Linked DNA regions of Homo sapiens: all the other regions are linked to region 4. Evidence: promoter capture Hi-C in 16 types of primary human blood cells and fetal thymus (Javierre and others, 2016). All regions are on one chromosome and are shown on one strand. Each heading gives the region's core, a stretch centred on a gene start or on the middle of the fragment in contact. The rest is flanking DNA. Distances are from core to core; before and after follow the strand shown.

Region 1 (2,813 bases), core at 39-2,538, 980 kb after region 4:
CCAGTTTGCTTATCCCCCTTCTCTTCACCTTAGCTCCAACCAGCCCTGGTGGACCTTTTGTCTCACTTTTACCTCCAGGCACAGGGAGGATTACAGGCCTGAGGTTCTAGCAGGCTCGCTGGTTCTCAACCCTTGGGTGCACATTAGAATCACCTGGGGAAGCTTTCAAACCAGCCCTGTGCACAGCCACAACCGTTCTAGGGACTCTGATTTATGTGGCCTTGGGGATGGGTATCCAGCATCCCTATTTTAGTACTGAAAGTCCCACATTCCGGGAAACCCTTTAGCCCAGGGCAAACTGGGACAGTCCATCACCCCAGGCCTGGTCTTCAGGTTTTTTTTTTTTTTAAGTTTTGTTTTTTTTCCTTTTTCGTTTGTTTATAGTTCCCCAGGAGGGTCTAATGTGCAGCCAGGTGGAGAACCACTGCTAGTTTAGTTCTCAGCAACAAGGGGTCTGCCCAGGTTTTAAAAACACTACTCTCAAGTTGTCTGCAAGTTATGGGCTTCATGGCAACCACTAAATACGTGTTGAATACATGAGTGAAATGAAAGAAATCTGATGCCTCTAGAAATAGATCATACCAAAGCTTATATTGCCAATAAGGAAATATCGATGATGTGGAAAAGCATTTGCACCAAGAAAATTAAAAACCATAGGTTTGGATAAACAAATTGTGGTAGATCCACACAATGGAATACTCCTCAGCAATAAAGAGGCGTGAACCATTCCTCCATGTAACGACACGGAGGAATCTCAAAAACATTATGCTAAGTTTAAGAAGCCACACACAGAAGGCCGCATACTGTATGATTCCATTTACATGACCTTTATGAACAAGCAAAACAGATCCGTGGTTGCCCGGGGCTGGGAGAGGGTGACTGGGGGCCTGCCACCAGAGGGCGCAAAGGAACATTAAGGGGCAATGGAAACATTCTATATCTTATGGTGGGGGTTACACAACCGTATACATTTGTCAAAACTCACAGAACAGCGTGACTTCATACCTATATCTCAAAACCTGACATTAGAAAATGTGACCTAGGGTAGATATATATGTAGCAGGCGTTTTTCCCCACCCTGAGTAGTGGGTACTGATTTCCCAGACAGGAGCTGCTACATCTGCTGAATAAGAAGGATCTTTCTACGGGCTATGGCTGGTACAAAATGTCCCTCCCTTTGAGACGCATGAGTTTCCTGACCTGTCCTTCTGAAGCCATTTTATTTACACAGAAACAATTTCTGGGCTGGGTGCAGTGGTTCACGCCTGTAATCCATCACCTTGGGAGGCCGAGGTGGGTGGATCACAAGATCAAGAGATCAAGACCATCCCAGCCAACATGGTGAAACCTCGTCTCTACTAAAAATACAAAAATTAGCTGGGCATGGTGGTGTGTGCCTGTAGTCTCAGCTACTCAGGAGGCTGAGGCAGCGTAATAGCTTGAACCCGGGAGGCAGAGGTTTCAGCAAGCCGAGATCGCGCTCCAGCCTGGCAACAGAGTGAGACTCTGTCTCAAAACAAACAAACAAACAAAAAAACGTGGTGATTACAGGCCGGGTTCGGTGGCTCACTCCTGTAATCCCAGCACTTTGGGAGGCCAAGGTGAGTGGATCACCTGAGGTCAGGATTTCAAAACCAGTCTGGCCAACATGGTGAAACGCTGTCTCTACTAAAAATACAAAAATTAGCTGAGCGTGATGGCAGGTGCCTGTAATCCCAGCTACTCGGGAGGGTGAGGCAGGAGAATCGCTTGAACCCGGGAGGCGGAGGTTGCAGTGAGCCGAGATTGAGCCATTGCACTCCAGCCTGGGCAACAAGAGTGAAACTCTGTCTCAAAAAGAAAAAAAAAAGTGATTACACACCATCAACTCCTGTTCCAGACCATATGCATTTTGAAGAAATGGGCAGCCACCCACCTCCTGAGCTGTGAGCCAGGCACTACCGGCGATATTACCATACGTAGCTTGCTGCTCTCAGACCTCAAGCTTTTGATCCATGAGGGAACCATGAAAAATATGAACTAGGAAACGACAGCACAAAGCTGCATGCGGTGCCAAGGGAGAGTTGCAGAAGCAGCCCAGTGGGTCTTCGGGGAGGGAGAGGGCCTGGGGCCAGGTTGGAGGTCTATAGGCAGGAATGAGAAGCAGGCCAGTGAGCCCCACTCTGAGGGCACAGGAGGTGCTCTAGGGGAAAGGAGCCAGGAGGAACTCCAGAGGTGGGCCAGCAGAGGCTTATAGACAGTGTCAGACAGGAGCTTTATGAGAAGGTCGCTGAGCAGAGGAAGAGCAGGATGAAAGGAGGGACTAGATTTGAGCCTGCCAATCTGCTTGAGGCATCTGAAATAATCCAGGGCATGCTTAAGAATGAGCATGGAAAGAGGAACAGGTGTGAGACTTGAAGATGTCCTAAGATGTAATGAGGGACTGGAGAGGGGAGACGGATGAAAATGACGAAGGCATGGCTTGCTTAACTATGCTCTCTAATGAACCAATGGAAAAGTAGTGAGAGCCAGGAGATTTCACCGGAGGGCAAAGCCACTGAGGTGGGTTCTCTTGCTCCCACAGAGATTACGTTCACAAAGGAGTTTCAGGCTGTCATTTCTATTTCCTGCAGCATGCAAGGTCTGGAGAAGTCACTTCATTGATGGGGTATATTTCTATAGCTTGATTTGCCTGGCATTGCTGTTGAAGATCTTGTATGCAGATGTCTGTGTGTCATAAGCTAGAGATACTATGGTTTCAGATTTGACTTGGCCATGAAATTGTACATATATATATATATATAGTGTGTGTGTGTGTATTAGGGAGGGTACTT
Region 2 (2,701 bases), core at 66-2,565, 890 kb after region 4:
GGTATAAAGAAGTTGCAGAAGTTCCTGGGACGACCGTTTCCTTTTAAGGTACACCTGGAAGCATTTAGTAAATAAAAGAAATGTGACTACTACTTCTGAAGTCCTTTTGGAACTTGGGAACTGACATTGTATAAGATTAATCCTTGTCTTGAAAGCATAACTCTTGCAGTTTTCCTTTGGCATCTGGGGGTGATTGGTTCCAGGATTCTCCTTGGATACAAACCTCCAGGAAAGTCCAAGACTTTTATATAAAATGGCGTTGTGTGTGTATATAACCTATGTACCCTTTATATCATCTCTAAATTACTTACAGTACCTCATACAATATAAACGCTGTGTAAATAGTGATTATACTGTATTGCTTAGGTAATAATGACAAGATAAAAAAGTCCTTATGCGTTCAGCACAGACGCAACCATCCATTTTTCCCCCTGAATATTTTCGACCCACGGTTGGTTGAATTGATGCGGAACCCGCACATAACAAGAGGGCAGGCTCTATCCCATGAATCCTGTTTAGTAATTTGCTACATATTATCATCTTACTTATTCCTGAGACTGTTAAGGCTGGGTAGAGAGTTAACTTTATTACCACTGTAAAATCTCTTGACAGCAACAGAAATAAACAAGTCCTTTGTTTTCTGGAAACATTAAGAATATATCATAAATTTATTCTGAGACCTGTATAGGCTACTAAAGAAAACCACATTTGTGCTCTATAGTATGCTCTTGTGGGTGTTGTTGTTTCAGGACAAGCTGGTGGTGGAGTGTTTTTCACAACTGAAGGTCCTTAACAAAGTCCTTGCCATCAGGGAGCAGATGTCTGCCCTTGGGGAGAGTGGATGGCAGGAAGACATTAACCGTCTCCAAGTGGTTGCTTCTCAGTGGACATTAAAGAAAAGTCTCCTGCAAGCCTGGGGACTGATCCTCAGAGCAAATATTTTGGAAGATGTCAGCCTAGGTAAAATATTCTAGCACTTGGCTAGCTGACAGATGCTCTGAAAATATCCTCTTGCTGGTAGTTAATAAGTTTTCCCTTAGATTTTTCTTTTCTGGGTGATGTGAGGGGTAGAGTTTATATACCTTTATATAAGTGTCAGGCATAGGACTAAATTTCACATATATTTTTAATTCCATCAGAATCATGTGGGTATTAATATCATTTCACAGATGAGAATCTCAAAGCTTAGGTTAAGGAGCTTAACTCTGATTAGCTCAAGTTAAGCTTGCAGTCACATAGCAGGTTGTTGAGAATCTAGAGGCTATACTCTTAACCATTGTGCTCTCATACAACATTTGTCTTTTTGTCCAGATGAATTGAAGAATTTTGTGCATGCTCAGTGTTTAGAACTGAAAGCCAAAGGACTCTCACTTGGTTTTCTGGAGAAAAAGCATGATGAAGCTTCCTCCCTGTCCCATCCAGACTTGACCTCCGTAATCCACCTCACCAGGAGTGTTCAGTTGTGGCCTGCAATGGAGTACCTGGCTATGCTTTGGCGGTACAAAGTGACAGCTGATTTTATGGCACAAGCTTGTCTCAGAAGGTAAACCATGCTTTCAGTTGTTTTCCTTGCGGGAACTTTTTTTCTTGATTATTCTGTGTATCCTATACCCATAAACAAACCACAGACTTGATAGGGATGGTTACCGAAGCAGAGGGAAGTGATTTGCCACTTTGGAAAGCCAAAATTTATTGAAGGTTTTTTTTTTACTAGTTTTGACTCTACTTTAAAAGTCACCGAGAATTTTATCAGTAGAGTTGTTCATTTTTAGATAAATGTACTGTAAGTTTTATGTTACACCTTCCCTAATGTAGCAGCTTTCCAGTAGTTCATTGATAGTCCATACCCCACCCTCTCCCTCTTTATTTTTGGAACAGATGCAGCAAAAATCAACAACCCCAGATAAATGAGGAGATAAGTCACCTCATCTCATTTTGTCTTTATCACACACCTGTTACACCTCAAGAGCTTCGAGATCTGTGGTCCTTGCTGCATCATCAGAAGGTAAAAATCACAATAAGACATAAGCCTCCTTTACATTATGAGTTGGTTAGATTTTCTTTGACAGACTGGTTGGGAAACATTTTATTTATTCTCAAAATTCCATATTGGAAACCTCAGGTTTTTTTGAATTGCCTCTTAAAGGGAAGAATTTTAAATATTCTTTTATAGTAATTATGAGGGTATATTACAACTCTTATCACAGGAGTATTCATTTGGTTTCCAATTAAATGAGATGAAAATATTTGCTGCTTAAAATCTCCCAATTGCTCAAAAATATATTGTGAGAGTGTTTTTTATACTTTTTTGTACTTTTCCTCTCTAATAAATTGAATATGAATACTGGTACACTCCTGTTAATAGAATTTCATTAGTACAGCTTTAAATAAAACTGTAAACATGTCACATTCCTTGACCAAGTTGACTGGGGTGGCAGAGAAACGGAAAAATTTGGATTAATACCTTTAAACTTATGACAGTTTTAGATGGGCCTTAGAAGAAAGAAGACCTAATAATTTATGGAGTCTTTCTCAGGTATTCTCTTACCTAATTATTCCTTTATTTCTAGGTGTCTCCTGAAGAAATTACATCTTTGTGGTCCGAGTTATTTAATTCCATGTTTATGTCTTTCTGGAGCAGTACTGTGACCACAAATCCAGAGTACTGGCTAATGTGGAACCCTTTGCCTGGTATGCAGCA
Region 3 (2,954 bases), core at 274-2,773, 850 kb after region 4:
CTTACTGGTACTCGTAAATATAGTATGTAATAATGGATTTGGAATTTTATGTTAGGTAAAAAGTGGGTAAAAAGTGTAAAAACTCAAAAATATTTTAAAATAATTATTGGGTTAGAAAAAAATTCTGACACAAATATCTCCTTATTTGATATCTCACTTTGTGTATGTGCCTGAAATGTCATTGTTACAGTCACTTTGCCTAGCCCTTTACATATGTTACCCTGAGAAAGCTCACAGGAGCTCTGCAAGAAAGTTATTATTGTAGTTTTATGGATGAGAAAAGTTGGATCTGAAATTTAAGTTTAACCTCTGTTTTTACAGTCCACTTTCTTAAACACACCTCTGCTTTCATGGGTGGTTTTAAAGTGACAAAAAAGTCACAACCAGGAACCCTCTTCTGGTTTGTAGATGGAGCTTATTTGTTCTCGTAAGGGTTATGTGTGTCACTTTCTGACTGCTGATAAAGTAAAGGGCAGAGGGTAGTTCCTATGTTCAGAGGGTTGTGTTCAGATATATTTGGGAACCAACAACCTTGTTGGTTTCCAGCTCAAGAAACCTTTCAGTGGAGAAGTCAGCACTATGTGTTGGATCCCAGTCTGTTAAAGTTAGGAAGAGAGTGATGTAACAGGTCAGGGATGATGAGAAGAAACAGAGGGGTTGATCTTAAATAAGACAATTAAGAGTGTTGGTAATTTGGTGGGTAGCTGAAATGATATATTGGGCCTAGGTTTCCTCAGTATCATAAGATGAAAATTGTCTCTATGCTTCAAGATATGCTCTGAAGAGAGGGAATAAAATACATTGCATTCAAAATATAAAAACTGGCTTCTGGGCAAGTAGAAATGCCACAGAGAGGTCTGATTTCAAGTTTGTGTATATTAGCTTGGCTGTCAGATTATCTTATCTTGTTTTCCTCAAGTCAATGCTTGCTGACTTTTACCCAAGGGAAAGTTACTTTTTAGTTTCGCATGCCTAACAAGCAGAGCAAGGTAGGATGCTGGACACCGGAGGTACTGGTTGTCTATGATACTGATGAGGTACACACACGTATGCTTTATTCCTGGGCCTCTGTGGTAGACCAGATAGATGATCATCAAGTAAAAGGAAAGTAATTACAAAGTAATCAGACAAACCAATAATGATGCTTATGTGGCATTGCAAACATTTGTGAATAGTGTCAACTGACCTTGTGGTGGGAAAAGGAATCTACAGGGGCAAAGGCCCTAAGACTGGAGTGGCTAAACAATTTCTTGTTATTCAAGAGGTAGAATATATACTTTTTAAAATCACACTCTCATTGAGCTATGTAAAAGAAGTTTCTTCCTCCTACATCAGACTGCCCTTCTCTGTGGGAAGACAGGTGTTTATTTTCTCTGAAGTATTATTTAGGTACCTGATGCAAAGTAAAGGTAAAGTAAAAGGAAGAATCTTTGCCTGAGGGGAAGAGTTCAGATTTGACTGGGACTGGCTGGAATCCTGCTTCCACCACTTAGTCTGTAAGGCCTCTGGACCACGTCTATTAAGAAAGTGATGATGATACTGGAAGGTGTCATGGAATATAAGGAGTCAAGACAAAGTACATCTTCAATTAATTATATCTGATAGTAGAAATAATTTTTAAAAGTGTGTAGTATTTGCTGGACTTAACAGCTAACAACATTCTTTCAAGACTTGTTTTCCAGCTTTCCTTACAGTTTTAAAAATTCACATTGAAGTTTTGTGTTTCTTATAGCTGTCTCCTGCCTTAAGAAACCGGTTTACAGAAATATGGTGCCCTCAAAGCACAAGCCGTGAAGATTTAATTCAGATCATCAGTCATAATCTTCGTCCAGGATTGTGTCTGGGCAGAATAGATCCTAAAGGTGAGAGTTTGCAGGTGGTGATGGTAGTATTGGGTCATAGAAGGGTTTGTGTTGGGAGTTGAGGGATCTCTTACAGGACATCAGCCCTGTGTGTATATGGTGTGTTATAAGAAGAAAGGAGATAGGTAAATGAAACAAAGTAGACAAGGAGAATATTACTATTCTGTTACCTTCTGTTAAAGTGTCCCATCTTCATATTTTCATCATTACCACTTGACACAATGGCTGTAGAATTTCAGCTGCATTTCTTTAGTTGTCATCAATGAACATGTTATTCTTTCACTTTATTTAAAAATTTTTTTGGCTAGGTGTGGTGGTTCACACCTGTAATCCCAGCACTTTGGGAGGCCAAGGTGGGCGGATCACTTGAGGTCAGGAGTTCGAGAGCAGCCTGGCCAACATGGCGAAAACCCATCTCTACTAAAAATACAAAAATTAGCTGGGTGTGGTGGTGGGCACCTGTAATCCCAGCTACTTGGGAGGCTGAGGCAGGAGAATCGCTTGAACCTGGGAAGTGGAGGTTGCAGTGATCCAAGATCGCGCCATTGCACTCCAGCCTGGGCAGCAGAGCCAGACTCCATCTCAAAAAAAAAAAAAAAAAATTAGGCTGGGATTGCACCATTGTACTCCAGCCTGGGCGACAGACTCCATCTCAAAATTAATTAATTAATTAAATAATTTTTATTATGAAAAATCTCAGGCACAAGGAAAATAGATTAGTATCCATAATCTAGAATTAACAATTTAAAATATCCAATAAAAGGCAACACTCCTAACTATATGGTTCTTTTTGTTTTTGAAGCCTGTATTGGTTTGATGTATGCATATTTATCTTAGACATTCAATGGAATAAATTTAGAACCCAGATCTGGTTCCAAGACTAAATACATAGTTTTTTGGATCATTTTTTATATTCTTAAAGAATATAAAAAAAAGATATCTGCTTCTTGGAAATTGGAATTCATGGCTATGTTTCACTTTTTAAAGGTGCCCTACCACACATTTTCTAAAATGAGTAGAGTAGCTGTAGAGAGCATCTAATCTGCATGGAACCCATTCTCACCTGTGGTGTTTTAGGGACGACTGATTCTT
Region 4 (3,005 bases), core at 31-2,530:
CTAAGTAGAGATGACCAATAGGTCCAGAATTCAGGAAAAATCTTGAGTATTTGGAGATTAGGAGTCATCATTATAAAAATAGTATGAGAAACAGAGACCTTGGGTAAGAGCATGCAAAGAGAGAGTGTACAGTGAAAAGAAATTATCGTTTCTTTCATTTTTTTATCCACTCATCAAACTGTCACTGCGTGTCACTAGAACTACGAATAAAAAGTGACAGAATGTTTCCCAGGAGTTTGTAACTTCTTGATGGTCAAATCCAATGATCTATTTGCAATCCCAAATGTGTTTAACATAATTCCACAGTTAGGCTTTATGTCAAACGGACTATATAAAATTCAACAGTTAGTTTAAAACTAAAACTTGTGCTGGTAGTACAACATGAGCAATACTGACCATCTTGGGGACAGAATGATCTAGTTTGTGAGGACCATAATTGCTTTAAACTCTCAGCGTGTTTTCTCATGTCCTGAAAATGGTGACAAAAATATTCGATTTTCAAGGCGACTGTTGATGATTCATTTACCAATCTAAAGCACTAGTGCCCCGCACTCGTAATCCATAACTTGAGATGAACACACCAAATTATAAATATCTTATTCACCTAATCCGTGGAAAGTTTGTAACACCAAAATATTAACTTCTGTTCTTGATCACTCAGCCTCCATAGTTATTCATGTTGCATGATCTGATTCGCTCTTTTAGAATTTCTCATAGCGTCAGGTACTAGCTCAAAATAACAGGAGCAACTGCTTCTTTCCATATCCCACATTGAGGAAAACACATTTTGCAAGCCGTCTTAAAGAAACAGGTCAACTTAGTTTAGGGATGAAACTTAAAAGTAAGCTTCGTCACAAAAAACACAGTTCAACACCACCTCGCCCGGCTGCAGGCAGCTCAGAGGACAGGAAGTGAGGCCAAGACATATTTCACGCAGCACAGACTAAACCCCAGCTTTTATCTTTCCCGCTGGTCCTTAAGGGACCAACCGTACTGATTTTCCGTCATGTTCCGCGCCACTTCCGTTCGCGCACTTTAATTACGTCAGGCGTCCTCTCTCGCGGTATCATCCGGTTGCTGAGGCCCTGTAATAAAGGTCTCGCGAAATTTGTTCTAGAGGTCCAAGTTTGCTTCTTAGCTTACTCCACCCCACCCCCAACCTGTCCCTCCTTTTCTTTCCAAGTCACAAAATTCTCCCCTCCCCTACCCCGGAGTTTACGGCCCTCCTCCTGTTTCCGATTTCAGCCCGGAACCGGAAGTGTAGTGGGCGGGGCCCGTCGGCGGAAAACGCAGCGGAGCCAGAGCCGGACACGGCTGTGGCCGCTGCCTCTACCCCCGCCACGGATCGCCGGGTAGTAGGACTGCGCGGCTCCAGGCTGAGGGTCGGTCCGGAGGCGGGTGGGCGCGGGTCTCACCCGGATTGTCCGGGTGGCACCGTTCCCGGCCCCACCGGGCGCCGCGAGGGATCATGTCTACAGCCTCTGCCGCCTCCTCCTCCTCCTCGTCTTCGGCCGGTGAGATGATCGAAGCCCCTTCCCAGGTCCTCAACTTTGAAGAGATCGACTACAAGGAGATCGAGGTGGAAGAGGTGAGCGAGGCCCGGCATGGAGACGCCGGTCCCGGCCTGCCCCGCCCCCGCCTCTGCCTGGTGCCGGCTCTGAAGGTGCCTCCCGGGGCCCCTCTAATTCGCGGGACCCTGCGGGGTCCACCCGGGAGACCCCACAGCCCTCAGTAACGTGGGAGTGGGGGTTACTCTCTGAGCTCAACTGCTCGGGAGTAGCTGCCTTTTTTCCTCTCTTGGGTACTCTTGATTTTGGATTTGATATTCCGGTGATAAACAGGAGAATGAACTGGTGAGATAGTGTGGTCCACCAGTTCTCGTATCTGTAAGTAGTAGTTTCAGCGAAGATCGTAGCCGTTCTGGAGTTTCAGTCCGCTGGACGTAATGTTCTTTTTTTTTTTTTTTTTTTTTTGAGACGGAGTCTCGCTCTGTCGCCCAGGCCGGACTGCGGACTGCAGTGGCGCAATCTCGGCTCACTGCAAGCTCCGCTTCCCGGGTTCACGCCATTCTCCTGCCTCAGCCTCCCGAGTAGCTGGGACTACAGGCGCCCGCCACCGCGCCTGGCTAATTTTTTGTATTTTTAGTAGAGACGGGGTTTCACCTTGTTAGCCAGGATGGTCTCGATCTCCTGACCTCATGATCCACCCGCCTCGGCCTCCCAAAGTGCTGGGATTACAGGCGTGAGCCACCGGGCCCGGCCGGACGTAATGTTCTTAATGGCCAAAGATTGTATTATATTCGACTTCTACTTCAGTACCTGGCATGTAGGGGATGCTCAATAAATGCTTGTTAAATTAGTAGATCATCAAGTCTAATAAAGTGTTTCCCTTAGCACCGAATGGTTCTCAATTTCTCCGATACCGCACAGCAATACTCGTAATGTTTAAATGCTCGGCTTTCAGTTGGGCTAATGTAGGTGAATTTCACCATAAGTAACATAGACTGGTCTACGATCAAAAGATGTTTCAAGTAGCATATTCTGAAGAGATAACGAATGATTTCGGTGACAATCAGAATATAATATTAGACTAGAAATCGCTATCAGAAAACCCATATCCTTTCTTTATTCTGCAGTAATTTATTTTAGAACAAGATATTTCAAAGTGACTTTAAAGCGTCGTTTTTCAAATTAACAGGTAAATTGGGTTCTAATGACTATAAAATTTAGAAAAGTAAAAACTGCATATATATTTTTTAAAGACACTTTAGAACTTGTTAAAAACTTTGGTTGAAAATACTATCTCTTACCATTTATTTGCCATTTTTTAAATTTATTAAGCACTTTGCGTTATATAGTCCATGAAAAACCTAGTGAAATATTATAGATTGTCAACGAGTTATGTCTACTTTAAAATTCTAAAATTATTTTTAAGTGTCAGCAAGTTCAAAGTAGTGAGATAACGTTCAACAAATAAATTTTTTTTCCTGTGCATGTTTTGGAAGA
Region 5 (3,011 bases), core at 365-2,864, 730 kb after region 4:
GATTTTTGCAGCACAGTCACAAAATAGGTCATTTTGGCAAAAGCTGTGAAGGCATCAACAGTGTCCCCCAAGAGCCATTTTAAACCCGTATCTTTGCTCCTCAAAACCATTCTTTTAAACCAGTTGTCATCATCTCCACAATTTTCTATTAATTAACTATTAATTGGCCTAAGTCTAACAGACCCTTTATAATCAATGTCATTTAATAAATCAAGCCGTTTTCCTTTATCAGTTTCATCAACTCGGAAAATAATGCATATTTGCCACATTTGCTATTTCATTCAATTTCATCAACTCAGGAAATAATGCATACTTGCCACATTTGCTATTTCATTTAATACTAAAAGAAAGCTTCCTTATAAACTGTCAACACTTTAACATTTTAATTTCTATTTATAACAACTTTTTTTTTGTTGTTTTACTTTTTTTAAGTGACAGGGTCTTGCTCTGTCACCCAGGCTGGAGTGCAGTGGCACAATCACAGCTCACTTTAACTTCAAACTCCTGAGTTCAAGAGTCCTCCCTCCTCAGCCTCCTAAGTAGCTAGGACTACAGGGGGCCATACACAGCTAATTGTTTTATTTTTTTGTAGAGATGAGGTTTCGCTACCTTGCTAAGGCTGGGCTCAAACTCCTGGCCTCAAGCAATCCTCTCACCTCTGCCTCTCAAAGTGCTGAAATTACTGGTGTGAGTCACTGTGCCTGGTAATTTGTTTTTTATGTTTTCATTTATACTCTACCTGTGTCTGTATTTCTTTAAATTTTTTCATCAGCTCTTTCATTTGTAGTTGACATTTTCCATATTCTACTTGCAACTATAAAATATAAAAGGATTAATTGAAGTATCATTCAAAATTATTTTCTTAGCTTAACTGGCATTTCTAAATATTTTAAATTTTGCAAATCAATTCACTAAGAAGGCAGATGAGGTCTACTTCTACCAGAAAGATAACCAGTTTTAAAGTTAAGCCTACAAATAATCTATTTTGTTTAGTTTCACATTCAACATCCAAACCTTAAAATTCAAATATAGTAGAAAGAAATAGAAGTCTGAGGACATTTTATGCAACATATAATTTAACTTTGTACATATCATGAAAGAAAAAATGTTGTAACACTGTTTGCCTGTTGAGGTTTTATATTCAGATGCTTAAATTGGGTCAAGCAAAATTATAACTAAATTTAGACAAGTATTCAGAAAACATTCCTTTAAAAAACAGGTCTGAAGACAAAAACTGACTTAAATATTTGTTAGTCTAAGAGCTAAGTTCCTAAACAAAATATCTGTTCAAAACTAAGCAGCTGACTGCTCTTCAGAAGCTACAAAACAGTAAATAACTGTCCTTAATAATTGTGGCAACCCATACATCATTATATGTTGCCTCCTTTGCAGTTCCTTCTTCAGTCAGGATCTCTTCATATAAGTCCAAACAATTTCTTGATGGTACACAGGATTTGGAAGCGCTGTCTAAAAACAAACAAACAAAAAAAACCTTCCATAAAAATACTTGTTACACTTTTTTCTTTTGTTTTTTTGAGTCTCGTTCTGTCACCCATGCTAGAGTGCAGTGGCAGTGGTGCAAATCTTGGCTCACTGTAGCCTCACCCTCCCAGGTTCAAGCCATTCTCATGCGTCAGCCTCCCGAGTAGCTGGGATTACAGGTGCACGCCACCACGCCCCACTAATTTTTGTATTTTTAGTAGAGATGGTGAGATGGTGTTTCACCATGTTGGCCAGGCTGGTCTCGAACTCCTGACCTCAAGAAATCCACCCGCCTTGGCCTCACAAAGTGAAAATATTTGTCACACCTTTTTTTTTTAGGAGTCTCCCTCTGTCACCCAGGCTGGAGCGCAGTGGCGCTATCTTGGCTCACTGCAACCTCCGCCTCCTGGGTTCAAGCGATTCTTCTGCCTCAGCCTCCCTGAGTAGCTGGGACTATAGGCACGTGCCACCATGCCCAGGTAATTTTTTTTGTATTTGTAGTAGAGACGAGTTTTCACTATGTTGGCCAGGCTGGTCTCCAACTCCTGACCTCAGGGGATCCGCCCGCCTCGGCCTTGCAAAGTGCTGGGATTACAGGCGTGAGCTACCGCGCCCAGCCTTGTTACACTTTTTGATATTTTATCTACTTCAAAGATTATACATTTCTCCATCTCCCATACTTCATCCTACATTTCACTTATCCTACATTCCAAATTTATACTGATTTTACAGATGGACTACCAATTTACCTAAAATGGTTGTGTCAACCAAATTAGGTATGAAGATCATAACTGTTCAAAACTCTGAGAAATCTGATTATGGAAAAGGTTTCTAATTTGAATAGGTCATTAGATTCTCAGCATATCACTCTTACTGATACGTTTAAAAATATTTATAGTAACTTACACTTTTCAAATGTTCTAATATCATATAACCTTCAAGAGTATGAGTGCGGCCAGGTGTGGTGACTTATGCCTGTAATCCCAGCACTTTGGGAGGCTGAGGTGGGCGGATCACGAGGTCAGGAGATCGAGACCATCCAGGCTAACATGGTGAAACCTTGTCTCTACTAAAAATACAAAAAATTAGCCGGGTGTGGTGGCACGTGCCTGTAGTCCCAGCTACTTGGGAGGCTGAGGCAGGAGAACCACTTGAACCCAGGAGGCGGAGGTTGCAGTGAGCCGAGATCAAGCCACTGCATTCCAGCCTGGGCGACAGTGTGAGACTCCGTCTCAAAAAAAAAAAAAAAAAAAAAGAGTATGAGTGAGTAGTAACAGACACCAGCACTAGTTGCACTTCAATAGTAGAAAATGTTTTTGCACAAGGCTCAATTAAATCTGAGACTGAGATGAATAAAAAACCTGTGTGCTAATTTGTTTTTCTGATCAAGCTTTGGTTAAGATTGGGTTCTGGAAGTTACTGTGGGGGAAAAGAAAGAAAAGAATTACCTCAGTGTAATTACAAAGAATGAGCAAATTCTTTAGGAGCTATGATATACCAGGATTTAGTAACCACAAAACAATGAACTG
Region 6 (2,818 bases), core at 273-2,772, 830 kb after region 4:
ATGGATGGTTTTTTATTATGCCCTATACATATTTATTTAGACATGTTGGTAAAATAAATGATGTGAATTTTACTATTCAAGTAGGACTTTCAATTTTTTTTTACTTTTATTTTTTTGAGACAGGGTCTGGCTCTGTTGCCCACGCTAGAGTGGCAGTGGCGTGTTCTTGGCTTACTGCAACCTCTACTTCCTGGGCTCAAGCCTCCCACCTCAGCCTCCCAAGTAGCTGGGACTGCAGGTGTGTGCTACTGCACCTGACTAATTTTTGTATTTTTTTGTAGAAACAGGGTTTTGCCATGTTGCCCAGGGTGGGCTTGAACTCCTGGGCTCAAGTGATCTGGCCACCTCAGTGTCCCAAAGTGCTGGGGTTATAGATGTGAGCAGCCATGCTAGGCTAGTTTTTTTCATAACACTGTTTATCTAATAATAGTTTTTACCTTCATTATGGGCCCTTCAAATGCTTGCGATGGGGGAAAATATTACAATTTAAAACTGTAACGTAGATTTTAAATATTTCAGTAGTATTTCTGACGTTAATTAAATGAAATCTGAGACCTACTCCTGTTTTCTGAGCCATGCTTTCTAACTTCTGTTAACTTCAGAAGTTTGTGAATCACATTTACCTGTGTCTGTTTCAGTTATAAACCGGTGGACCATAAGCTTATTTGGCTACCCTTACGGGAGGCATTTGAGGAACTCTTTGCTCAGACATTTTCCAAGAAACAAAACTTTACGTTCTTGGGGCACATTCAGACCTGTTACAGACAGAAACGGTGGCATGATCTCCTGAGACTAATGCAGCATGTACACAAGTCTGCTGTTAACAAGGATGGAAAAGACAGTGAAACTGGTAAGGATGTGACCCAGGCTGCCATGGGGGAGGGCATGGGGCTGGGCTTTAGTTAACATATTAGTTTTGGGGAAGAGTAAAGCGATACAAATTGGAGCTTTCTAGGACTTTGGCAGAAGTGACTAATTGTGAAGTATTGTGCCCCATTATTCACGTATTTCCACAAAAACAGTTGACTGGTAATGCTGATGTGCAAGTACTATTTAGTGGTCAGTAAGGCACATTTCCTCAGAAAAAGCTTATTTCTAAGGAGCTAGATTCTATAGCCAAGAGGCTTTTGCTGGCTTAGTTTACTTCTGTGTGGTTCCTTATCTGTAAAGCAGGAATAAAAATAACTAGTCCAGAGGGTTGTTGTGAGGGATAAATGAGGCAGTTAATACATATATATTCATACATGTGGGCTAATTAGTGTCATGTCTGGCATTTTGTTAGCATTATACAAGTTTTTAGACTTAGTGTTTTGTGTAAGATGCTTAATTTTTGTGTGTTTTGTTAATTGTATTTGTTTGTTTAGAAGTTGTATATATTACAATTCAAAATGTGTGCTGAATTCTTGTCTTTCTTTTTTAGGGTTACTCATAAAAGAGAAATGGGAAGCATTTGGTCTTAGACTCAACCATGCCCAACAACAGATGAAAATGACTGAAAATACCTTATTGTTCGCATTTGTAGAGGTATTTCTGTTTTTGTTATTTAGCTTATGGGAACGTTGATTTTATGCAAAACAATGTTTCAGGCAGGTTACTATTTTGTATTGTCTTAATGAAATAATGATTTTGGGGGAAGATTTTGAAAAGTGTCCTTCATGGTAATTATGGCAATTATAAGATCTTAATGAGCACCATCATTATTTAAATAAAAATTTTAAAAGTACAAATTGATAAATTATAATTGTATATATTCATGGGGTACAAAAGGGTGTTATGATTTATGAATACGGTATGGAATAACTAAAGCTAGTGAATATTCATCATCTCAAATACCGTTTTTTGTAGTGAGAACATTTGAAATGTACTGCCTTAGTAATTTTGAAATGTACAAGACATTATTATTTATGGCATGGTCGCCATGCTATGCAATATATATCTCAAAGGGAAGAAAGCTTATTTTTTTCTGTCTAATTAAGGCTTTGTACTTTCTTTTCTTTTTTTTTGAGACAGAGTCTCACTCTGTCCCCCAGGCTGGAGTGCAGTGGCACAGTCTCGGCTCACTGCAAGCTCTGCCTCCTGGGTTCACGCCATTCTCCTGCCTCAGCCTCCTGAGTAGCTGGGACTACAGGTGCATGCCACCATGCCCGGCTAATTTTTTGTTTTTGTATTTTTAGTAGAGACGGGGTTTCACCGTGTTAGCCAGGATGATCTTGATCTCCTGACCTCGTGATCTGCCAGCCTTGGCCTCCCAAAGTGCTGAGATTACAGGCGTGAGCCACCGCGCCTGGCCAAGGCTTTGTACTTTCATTACTCTGTACTCCCTAACTCTCCAGCCTCTGCTAACTACCATTCTGCTGGCTGCTTCTTTGAGTTCCATTGTTTTAGATTTCACATATAAGTGAGAACATGCAATACTTGTCTTTCTGTGCCTGGCTTGTTTCACTTAGCATAATATTCTCTGGTTCTATTTATGTCATAGCAAATGACAAAATTTATTTCTTTTTTCAAGCCAAATAAGATTCCATAGGATTCCATTGTTTGTATATATGTATATATACAACATTTTCTTTATTCATCTGTTGATGGAGACATAGGTTGATTCTATATCTTGACTATTGTGCATAGTGGTGCAATGAACAGGGGATTGCAGACATCCCTTCGACATATTGTTTTCAGATTTTTTTTGGGAATACCTGGAAGTGAGATTGCTGGATCTATTACTATTTTTAAAGATGCAATTGATGACAGCTAGTGAACTCTGGATTCTTTCTCTCACCATGTGTGTCTCCGGGGAAAGAGTGTGTGGATGTGAGAGAGG
Region 7 (3,052 bases), core at 206-2,705, 710 kb after region 4:
GGTTCAAAGAGAGGGAAGGGGACAAGCCCCATGTTGGAGAGCCCTAGCACTACAAAACCACTGCTATTTATTTCAATGTGTAATCTTTTAGGACAGGGCTTCTTCCTTTGGACACCCTGAGAAAAATGGCAATGAGAAGAGGCACTTCCTAGAGTCTAGGGCCTAGATTATTAACTGAGAAGTTCTGTGAGTCTGAAGGCTGAAGGGTGAAGAAGTAATGCCCAAGCTAATCAATCCTTACACCTGTTTTCTCCAAAGCTTCACCCAAAAAGCTCTTGTGCTACTCTAATTTTATCTGTGAGGACACCTGCAGCAGAGATATGGTTCACCGTTCTAGTACTTGCTGTGAGAAGGCAGGCAACAGCAATCAGTTTTCTCAATCTACTCAGAACCATTCAGCCAGCCACACCCCAACCAGGAACCACTTCAAAATTGCACCCTACGTCCCCTAGGACTTTTACCTCTTTTGATTTTTTAAATTATTACCTAAACACAATAAAAGTAAAAGAAACATTCGAATCAAAATACAACAAAACTTTACATGGTTTTATTATACATTACTGTTATTGAAAGCAAACTTTATACAAAAAGTTTTATACAGATAAAAAAAATCCTTGGCTAGGCAAAGCCGTTTATGTGTGTGCATATACAGAAACACACATACATACATATACACACGGTATTTTACATCATAATTATACATATTTATAAATACATTATTTAAATTATTTTACAATATACCAAAACAAGGAGGCAATTATAAAAGCAAATAAAAAATGGATGAACAATTGAACTAAATAGTCACTAAGTTTAAAATGCTACAAAACTATTTTTTTAATCTAGAAAGTCATTTCTTTAAAATATCAAAACTAAGATTTCAATACATCACTGTTGCTTTCATTTTGGTAAGTTCTAACATGTTTAAAAATAAATATTTTGACCAAAAACAGATAAGCAAATCAGAATGATGACTAGCACAAGCTGAACATGCTGATGTGAAATTAGAGAGTCACTGAGTAATAACAAATATAGATTATCATCTGGTAACCAAAAAGGTGATAAACCTCCCTCTAGTGCTCATTTAAAACATGAGGAATTTGAAGCTTCTGTGTAGTATGCAATATCAGTTAAGAGTCCCAGGAATTCAGCAACTTATCTGTAATGTAAGAAAATGCTAAAGTTATTATTCTATTTTTCTGATAGGACTATCTCATAATGTGTTATCTTAAATGAGCTCCATTTAGACGATATTGGTGTTTAATAAACTAGCTTTCTCATCTTCCAATTGGTCTCAAAATTTAAAAAAAAACCTAGCTTTTGCAATCAGTTTGGTAACTATCATTATACTTGATATTGACAAAAATTTAATAGGACTACAGTACTTGTGGGGAAAAAAAATCAGTTAAGAGGCAAGCTACGAATGAAATAACCCACAATATGTGCTATCCTGCAAGCAAAGAAATCTCAAATATCAAATTCATTAAATGGTTTTAGATTTTTGGCCAGGTGCAGTAGCTTACGCCTGTAATCTGAGCACTTTGGGAGGCCAAGGCAGATGGATCGCTTGAATCCAGGAGTTCGAGACCAGCCTGGGCAACACAGCGAAACCCCATCTCTGTTTAAAAGAATTTACATTCTCTTCACAAGAGAACGGAAATCATACTTTAATATAACATTAAGGTAAAAAAAAGAAACGATTTAATTTCTTAAAGGCAGCAAAAATCTTAAAAAGCACAGTTAATCTAATAAATAATCAAGCCACTTTTGCCCAGAGCTTTTTAAAAAAAAGTTCTTTAGAATAAGCTTCTTCTCCAAATTCCCCATTATTCAAGCTTACAGTATTCTGTTGTGTTTTGTTCAAGTGATTCTCCTGCCTCAGGCTCCCAAGTAGCTGGGATTACAGGCACGTTCCACCATACCCAGCTAATTTTTGTAATTTTGGTAGAAATGAAGTATCATCATGTTGGCTGGGCTGGTCTCGAACTCCTGAACTCAGGTGACCTGCCCACCTTAGCCTCCCAAAGTGCTCGGATTACAGGCATGAGCCACTGCACCCGGCAACATTCTGAATTATATAAGTAGAAATTTAACGTCATAATCACTTGAACCCGAGAGGCAGAAGTTGCAGTGAGCTGCGATCATGCGGCTGCACTCCAGCCCGGGCGACAGAGTGAGACTCCGTCTCAGAACAAACAAAAGAAATTTAACATCATAGTAAACTACTACACATATTTTGAAGATTTCACTAGCACTGCGCTCTATGTCCAAATCAAGTTTTTGTTTTTTTTTTCTTTTCTTTCTGAGAGGCAGAGTCTCACTCTTTCAGGCTGGAGTGTAGTGGCGCAATCTTGGCTCACCGCAACCTCCACCTCCCAGGTTCAAGCGATTCTCATGCCTCAGTCTCCCAAGTAGCTGGGATTACAGACACGTGCCACCATGCCTAGCTAATTTTTGTATTTTTTGTAGAGATGGGGTTTCACCATGTTGGCCAGGCTGGTATAGAACTCCTGGCCTCAAATGATCTGCCCACCTCGGCCTCCCAAAGTGCTGGGATTACAGGTGTGCCACTGTGCCCGGCTAATTTTTTGTATTTTTAGTAGAGACGGGGTTTCACCATGTTAGCCAGGATGGTCTCAATCTCCTGACCTTGTGATCTGCCCTCCTCGGCCTCCCAAAGTGCTGGGATTACAGGCGTGAGCCATCGCGCCTGGCCTGACTCCATCTCTTAAAACATTTTTTTCACGCCTGTAATCCCAGCACTTTGGGAGGCCGAGGTGAGCAGATCACATGAGACCCAGAGTTCAAGACCAGCCTGGCCAACACAGCAAAACTCCGCCTCTCTAGTAATCTACTAAACATACAAAAAATTAGCTGGGTGTGGTGGCACACACCTGTAATCCCAGATACTCGGGTGGCTTAAGCACAAGAATCACTTGAACCCAGGAGGTGGCGGCTGCAGTGAGCCAAGATCACGCCATTGCACTCCAGTAAGGTCAACAAAGCAAGACTCTGTTTCCAAAAAAAAAAGACTGAATGAAACTAACTTTAATTC

What was found. Contacts are between HindIII fragments. The CHiCAGO score rates a contact against its expected background, and 5 or more counts as called.
Region 1: a fragment that was not itself captured here is called in contact with the fragment with the promoter of MAP3K7 in region 4 in 3 of 17 cell types (activated CD4 T cells, non-activated CD4 T cells and total CD8 T cells); the score reaches 6.8 in activated CD4 T cells.
Region 2: a contact is called between a fragment that was not itself captured here and the fragment with the promoter of MAP3K7 in region 4, in 2 of 17 cell types (naive CD8 T cells and naive CD4 T cells). The highest score is 6.5, in naive CD8 T cells.
Region 3: a contact is called between a fragment that was not itself captured here and the fragment with the promoter of MAP3K7 in region 4, in 1 of 17 cell types (non-activated CD4 T cells). The highest score is 5.2, in non-activated CD4 T cells.
Region 5: a contact is called between a fragment that was not itself captured here and the fragment with the promoter of MAP3K7 in region 4, in 3 of 17 cell types (total CD4 T cells, activated CD4 T cells and non-activated CD4 T cells). The highest score is 7.1, in total CD4 T cells.
Region 6: a contact is called between a fragment that was not itself captured here and the fragment with the promoter of MAP3K7 in region 4, in 6 of 17 cell types (non-activated CD4 T cells, total CD8 T cells, naive CD8 T cells and 3 more). The highest score is 8.0, in non-activated CD4 T cells.
Region 7: a contact is called between a fragment that was not itself captured here and the fragment with the promoter of MAP3K7 in region 4, in 3 of 17 cell types (total CD4 T cells, total CD8 T cells and activated CD4 T cells). The highest score is 8.7, in total CD4 T cells.

What each region holds. Positions count from the first base shown.
Region 1 is chr6:89,608,339-89,611,151 of GRCh38, reverse strand. All of the region lies in intron 5 of ANKRD6 (ankyrin repeat domain 6), which reads right to left. The region is part of intron 1 of LOC124901359 (a long non-coding RNA gene); the gene reads left to right. Among named protein-coding and RNA genes, the nearest start is that of MDN1-AS1, 29 kb to the left of the region's middle. RefSeq lists a silencer at 1,571-1,770. The HindIII fragment of the contact is 1,397 bases long and covers 590-1,986 here.
Region 2 is chr6:89,698,905-89,701,605 of GRCh38, reverse strand. MDN1 (midasin AAA ATPase 1) reads left to right here. Exons shown (of 102, transcript NM_014611.3): 55 at 1-48; 56 at 750-960; 57 at 1,312-1,543; 58 at 1,879-2,005; 59 at 2,571-2,701. Among named protein-coding and RNA genes, the nearest start is that of LYRM2, 62 kb to the right of the region's middle. The HindIII fragment of the contact is 177 bases long and covers 1,227-1,403 here.
Region 3 is chr6:89,737,234-89,740,187 of GRCh38, reverse strand. MDN1 (midasin AAA ATPase 1) reads left to right here. Exons shown (of 102, transcript NM_014611.3): 33 at 1,733-1,862. Among named protein-coding and RNA genes, the nearest start is that of MDN1, 81 kb to the left of the region's middle. The HindIII fragment of the contact is 5,216 bases long and covers 1-2,954 here.
Region 4 is chr6:90,585,347-90,588,351 of GRCh38, reverse strand. MAP3K7 (mitogen-activated protein kinase kinase kinase 7) reads left to right here and starts at 1,280. Exons shown (of 17, transcript NM_145331.3): 1 at 1,280-1,588. The coding sequence starts at 1,469. It overlaps LOC124901363 (a long non-coding RNA gene), which reads right to left and starts at 1,558. Exons shown (of 2, transcript XR_007059680.1): 1 at 397-1,558. RefSeq lists silencers at 1,148-1,344, 1,341-1,460. The HindIII fragment of the contact is 2,842 bases long and covers 849-3,005 here.
Region 5 is chr6:89,853,273-89,856,283 of GRCh38, reverse strand. CASP8AP2 (caspase 8 associated protein 2) reads right to left here. Exons shown (of 10, transcript NM_012115.4): 4 at 1,367-1,467; 5 at 740-814. Among named protein-coding and RNA genes, the nearest start is that of CASP8AP2, 25 kb to the right of the region's middle. The HindIII fragment of the contact is 2,521 bases long and covers 354-2,874 here.
Region 6 is chr6:89,760,351-89,763,168 of GRCh38, reverse strand. It overlaps MDN1 (midasin AAA ATPase 1), which reads left to right. Exons shown (of 102, transcript NM_014611.3): 16 at 639-850; 17 at 1,421-1,524. Among named protein-coding and RNA genes, the nearest start is that of MDN1, 58 kb to the left of the region's middle. The HindIII fragment of the contact is 864 bases long and covers 1,091-1,954 here.
Region 7 is chr6:89,871,910-89,874,961 of GRCh38, reverse strand. It overlaps CASP8AP2 (caspase 8 associated protein 2), which reads right to left. Exons shown (of 10, transcript NM_012115.4): 10 at 526-1,161. The coding sequence ends at 1,153. Among named protein-coding and RNA genes, the nearest start is that of GJA10, 21 kb to the left of the region's middle. The HindIII fragment of the contact is 700 bases long and covers 1,106-1,805 here.